2 separate regions of the Homo sapiens genome follow, and region 1 is linked to region 2. The links are contacts of gene promoters, found by promoter capture Hi-C in human tissues and cell types (Jung and others, 2019). All regions are on one chromosome and are shown on one strand. Each heading gives the region's core, a stretch centred on a gene start or on the middle of the fragment in contact. The rest is flanking DNA. Distances are from core to core; before and after follow the strand shown. Region 1 overlaps SPTB (spectrin beta, erythrocytic). Region 2 holds the start of SPTB (spectrin beta, erythrocytic).

Region 1 (2,853 bases), core at 174-2,673, 36 kb after region 2:
ATAGGAGGAGCTGATTCTGTATAGCCGGTCTAGCCTGGTTTGGTTATGGATTACTTTGGATCTTTCATTTCTCAGTGCTTTGCTTATTTTCCATGTCCATCTCTCTCTTTAACAAGGAAGTATTGTATGCAGTGAGAGCAAGAGCTCAAAGACTTGAGATTCTGGGTCTTATTTCTGGTCAGGTTAACAATATGAAATGCTCAGAAGTTTTAGGAAGATCATCTTCTTCTCCATCTCCAAAGTTGCATGCTGCGATCACAAAGGGAATGGGAGGCAGACATCTTTCCAAACACTGAGATCAGGTGGAATCTCTGGAATGTGATTTGGATGTATTTTGGAAATGTTGGGCTATTTTTAGTAGAAATGGGATAGGGAGTTGGGGAGAATAGTAAATCTGACTTGCAAAGAGTAGGTGTTTTTGGGAAGTCATAGCCTCTTCTTCATGTTACTTTTCAATTAAAGCCCTGCTAAATGTTAATGTGAATTGCTGGACTGTTATTAACAAAGCTGAAATTTATCATTAGAGACAATTCATCCTAAAGTTCTGCTGTCAGACCGGCATCAGGCTTCTCACAGTTGTGTGACTTTGGGCAAGTAGCTTAACTTCTGTGAGCTTCAGTTTCTTCATTTATAAAATGGAGAAGTGAAAATCACTCACAGGAGAGCACTGATGATGAAAGGAGGTATGTATGTCAGGCACTTAGCATGGTGCCTCACATGTTCTAAGTACTCACTAAACATGGTTGTTTCGTTGTTGGGGGTGATGGTATTCTACAAATGTCTGTTGTTGGGGATATAAATTCCTATTGTGTGTTGGGACCTGGTCCCTTCACACATAGGTGGATAATTCACAACTGAGGACGTGCATTTGCTGGCAGTCAAGGGTAACTATAATAATAAAGACAGGCTGGGCTTTCTAGCTCTCATTTTTTTTTTCTCCATGACTCCTGCTAAGCACTCTTGGAGATCATGGCCATCACATTCTTCGTGAAGATTCTCTACCCAGCCTGGGTGTACCATTTTGAGGATGGGTAGGTCCACTCTTGTTGGATCTCAACTGTAGCCTTTTTTTGTTGGGATTTGCTAAAGACCTGGCATATGTCACTTTTATAATTAAAAACAATTTGATAAAACACATTAGGGTGGCTGAAAGGAAATATCCCAAATTAACAATGGTCCTGTGTGAACATAGGCTAATGCACAGCTCTGTGCTGGGATGGGAGGCTGGTGGTGGTGATGGTGCTTAGAGAGTCCAGTCAGGAGAATGGGTAAATTCTGCATTGAGCACAGAATGGTTCAGGGCAAGGCACATGGGCTAATGCTTAGAGCAGGCGGTGACTATTGCTATGCTCCAAGCCTGGCAAGGGGTGTTGCCAAGGTGAGCAGGCAGCATTCCCGTCTGTTCACACCCACTCTTCTCTCCCAGTCGTGGTCCTCAGGTTGGCTTGACAGCGATGGCCTTTATTCAAAGAAAGCAGCCGCCAGAGCAAGACTAAAGCCTGTCCTAACCCTTGACAAAATGTCACACTCATGCCTTTTTTCCTACTACCGGAGACTAAGGGTTGTGATGGAAACAAGGGAGCTGCGATGGGGCTGTGACCAAGTGAAAATGAGAGAGTAAGGAATTTACTGCTTTGCTTGTTGTGAAGAATGGTGGCAAACATTCAAACATTGGTTTGGGTTTTTTTTTCCCCAGTGAAGTATAAAAACATCTTTTCCCCTTTTTATGGAGGGAAATGAGGGGGCAACAACATGACAGACCTTGAGTAGTAACTGCGTGACTGCTCTGCATCCTGCCCCAAGCATCTCTTCTGTAGACGTGTCTCAGGCATCACAGAAGAGATGTGGTTGCCTCTGCGTGTCTTCTCCTGGCCCTGTAAAAGCCTTGAGAAGCACAAAATATAGGCTATTTGTTTTCATCAGAAACCTGTCATCCAGGATTTACAGAATCTACACAGATGCCCAAAAAGGGCAAGATGGCCAGTACCCATGTAAACGCTGGATAGCCTATGTCTGATGATAAAAAGTTTCTACTTCTATATGTCTTCCCTCCCCCTTTTTTTTTGAGACAGGGTCTCATTCTGTCACCCAGGCTGGAGTGCAGTGGTGTGATCACAGCTCACTGCAGCCTCAGCCCCAGGCTCAAGTGATCCTCCCACCCCAGCCTCTCAAATAGCTGAGACTATAGGTGTGTGCCACCATGCCTGGCTAATTTTTTATTTTTTATAGAGACAGGGTCTCTCTGTTTCCCAGGCTGGTCTCAAACTCCTGGGTTCAAGTGGTCCTCCTGCTTTAGCCTCCCAAAGTGTTGGGAGCCACTGCATCCAGCCTATATGTCCCCATTTTTAAGTGCCACAAGTAGAGGGGGGTGTAGTTGCTATTTTATAATTGGAGAAACTGAGGCACAAAAGGGGCTAACAATTTGTTCTTCTGAGCTGTGGAAACAGCAGCAACCTTAGAGCAATGTTTGTAGACCACACAGATTCAGAGCCTGTATACTCCGTGTCTGACACGCTATTAAGGACTTTAAATACATTATCTCATTTGATCCAAACAGCAGTGCTGTGAGGTGATGACTATTACTAACTTCATCTTACAGATGAAGAAATAGAGGCTTACGGACTATAAGTAAATGGCCTAGGGCTCCCAGCTACTAAGTGGCTAAGTCCAGAGACATCCCCAGGCATTCTAACTCCAGATATACCTAACCACTACCCCCTACTGCCTGGTTCACGTCCCCGGATCAAAGTTACCTTAGTCTACTATTTCTGCCATGAAATCCCCTGCCTGCTACCCTCTGGCTCTTTCTGGAAACTGGCTCCAGCCCTTGCTGAACGAAGGAGTACTGCTACC
Region 2 (2,822 bases), core at 5-2,504:
TCTGGAAAACAGCACAATTATAATCCCAAGCAAATAACTCAGGAGTAAGACTGTTCCCTTGTTAAGAACACCAGGCAGCATCAGTAAAAGTTAAAACTTCTTCTGCATCTATGCGCTTTTAATCTCCACGGCCATTTCCATAATACCTGAGATTACCTGCGTTGATAGCTGGTGAGAAATCATCCCAGGCACCGCAGGTGGAGAAAAGAGATGAAAGCTACCTCAAGGCGTACACGTAAACCTTACTGAACAATGACCTTGATCGTTAGAAAGTCAAGAAAATGTACTGCCTTGCAAGCTGCCGGTGTTCTATTGAGTTTCTCTCCGGGGGCAACTCGGAGATGCCTTTTTGGCACCATCGGTTCTAGTATTTCCTCTGGCCTGCTGCGCCGCGCCTCATCCAGGCTTGTAGTGAGGCACCCCCACTCGCCCGGAGACCCGGGCCGGCCAGGAGGTGCCAGTGGGCAGGTGTGGCAGCCTGCCTGTTGATTACAGTCCCTACAATGTGCGAGCTCCTTGGGACTGCAGGCTGCGCGCCGCCAGCTTTGCCTGGTTCGTCCTGATTACACTAGGTTTTCGGGCAGAAACAGCGACACTGAGCTCGGGCTGGGGGTGGGGCCCTCGGGCCCAGTGCCCGCCCCCTGCCCTCCCACCGCCAGCCGAGAGAAGCCCGCCCGGGAGCGCGCTTTCTAATGCACCAGCCCCCGGGAACAATCTGTCCCTCCCAAACCCGCCACGGCGGGGGTTCACCTCCCGGGTACCCGCCGCGCCCACCCTATGGCCTAAATGTCTTTTCATATATTTTAAAAACTGAACTGTGTGCAGTGGGGATGCAGGGCGGGAAAGGCTGGAGGGCTCATTTTCGCCACCAGGCTTGCCTCTCCGGGCGCACGAATTAGGCCCGAGCTAGAGTCCAACCCCCTTCCCGCCTCAGGGGGCTCGGGGTGGCGCGGGGTTAGGGGCAATGAACGACGATGGAGGCGCCCCAGGCTCAGCGGCGGGCGGGGAGGCAGAGGCGGGTTCCAGGAGCCGGGCTGAGGCCCGGCAGGTGCCCCCAGGCGCGGAGGCTGATTGGCAGGTGCGTGAGTGGGTGGGGAAGGCGGGGGCTGGGCTTGGCGCTGCGGGAGGCTGCGGCCCCGCCTCCCCGCCCCCGCCGCGGGACTATCTGGTCCCGGCAGCAGCGATGTCCCCCGGCAGGAATGTCCCTCCTCAGATAATGTTATTTATATCTCTGGGCGGGTCCGCGGCTCGGCAGCACCAGGCGCCCGGCGGCCGCTGTGCCAGGAGCCCCGCGCTGCCCTCCTCCCCCTGCGCCGCCGCCGCCGCCACCCCCGGGCTCGGGGTGGCCCCCGCTTCAGTCCCAGGGCAGGTGAGTCCCAGGAGGGCCCGGCGGCCAAGGGAGCTGGGTGCGGGTGCGCAAGGCTGGGACGCGCGGCGCCAGCTCAAAGGAGCGCTGGGCCCAGGGGGCGCCTGACGCGCAGGGCCCAGAGGACCGGGTGGGAGTCCAGCCCCGGTTGTCGGGCGTGGGGTGGGAGGGGTGCGGGGCCCGGGAAGCCCGGCAGCTGCGGCAAAGATCATCCCGGGACGCGGGAACGCGCGCGGGCGTCCGAGGCACTTGGTGCTAGCTTTGGAGAGCGGGATCCCGGAGAGTCCGTCACCCCGGGGCGCAGGGAGAGGGTGACGGGGGTGCGTGTTCTCGTCCGCCTTCTCCAGGACCCCGGCCTGGGAGCGAAGGGGATTGCGCCTCTAGCCCGTCCGACCGCAGCGCTGCTCTCTGCCTTTTTTTGTCCGGCTTCTCAGCCTTGTGGCCGCTCATATCCCTCTTCTGGGGAACTTGGCTGCGCTCTCCTCGGGCCACCCAGCGCCCAGGCAGGAGGGACAGGTGAGGGCAGCAGAGGGGGCCGGGCCTCCGGGTGCTGGGAGCCACCCAGAGAGTGACCCCGTGTAGACCGAGGGAGGAAAGATCCTAGTGCCCCAAGCCATACTTCAAGGACCCCTAGTCTTCCTCTCCCAAAGAGTTCCTCTCTTCCTCTAAGCTTCTCCGGGCTACTCTACCCTCACCCTCCTCTCCAGTTTCCCCTCTTCCTCTAACTTGGTCTTGAGAAATAGCAGAAAGTGGGAGAAATAACAGAAGCTGTAAAACAATCCCCAACTCCCACCAACTCATCCGTACTTCCCAGGCTGGGGAAGCAGCTGCGGGGCTGGAGTGCTGTTTCCCTGACAACGAGCTTCAGGTAGGGCCTTGAGTTACAGCCTATTAATATCCAAACCACTGTTTTCAGTGAGCAATTAGAGGCGCCAGCCAGGAGTAAGGAAAATGAAAAGAAGCCACTGTTTTTTGTACATCTAAATTTTAGATGCATCAGATTGGGGGGTGGGGTGGGGGGATATAGTGACAGCCTTTTTGTACTGAGAATTTCTGTGGGGAGAGACTAGGCTGTCACCTCCAGGTAGGAGGCAGTCATGCAAAACCCCTGCCTGGAGGTAGTCACGATCCGTATTTTAGTTTCTAAGGGAAGAGATTCAGGCGGCTCCCTAATGAGAGGAGTCTGCAAATCAAAGATTTTTAGGCACAGCTCAACTGTCCACTGTCCTATCCTTAGCTTCACAGATGGCTCTGAATTTTATTCTAGAATTCCCTCTTCGCCCACCCCTTCCCCCACTATAACCCAAGGCAGGTCATTTCTTATTTTAGGATTCAGCTTTTATTCTTTTGCTCTGAGTCCCAGGTTCCAAAATGCAATTGAAAACACCTTTTTTTTTCTAAGTGCAAAATGATTGTTAATGTATGCTGAATGTCCAGCACCTGACACAGCTAGGCC

What was found. The method cuts DNA at HindIII sites, captures the fragments that hold promoters and counts their contacts. A contact is called where the count stands out against the background at its distance.
Region 1: a contact is called between a fragment that was not itself captured here and the fragment with the promoter of SPTB in region 2, in 2 of the 25 tissues and cell types used here (H1 embryonic stem cells and liver).

What each region holds. Positions count from the first base shown.
Region 1 is chr14:64,842,277-64,845,129 of GRCh38, reverse strand. The region is part of intron 1 of SPTB (spectrin beta, erythrocytic); the gene reads left to right. Among named protein-coding and RNA genes, the nearest start is that of SPTB, 36 kb to the left of the region's middle. The HindIII fragment of the contact is 9,697 bases long and covers 1-2,853 here.
Region 2 is chr14:64,878,339-64,881,160 of GRCh38, reverse strand. It overlaps SPTB (spectrin beta, erythrocytic), which reads left to right and starts at 1,254. Exons shown (of 36, transcript NM_001355436.2): 1 at 1,254-1,369. LOC105370534 (a long non-coding RNA gene) reads left to right here. Exons shown (of 3, transcript XR_943942.3): 3 at 1-280. RefSeq lists silencers at 634-713, 784-923, 974-1,143. The HindIII fragment of the contact is 6,743 bases long and covers 1-2,822 here.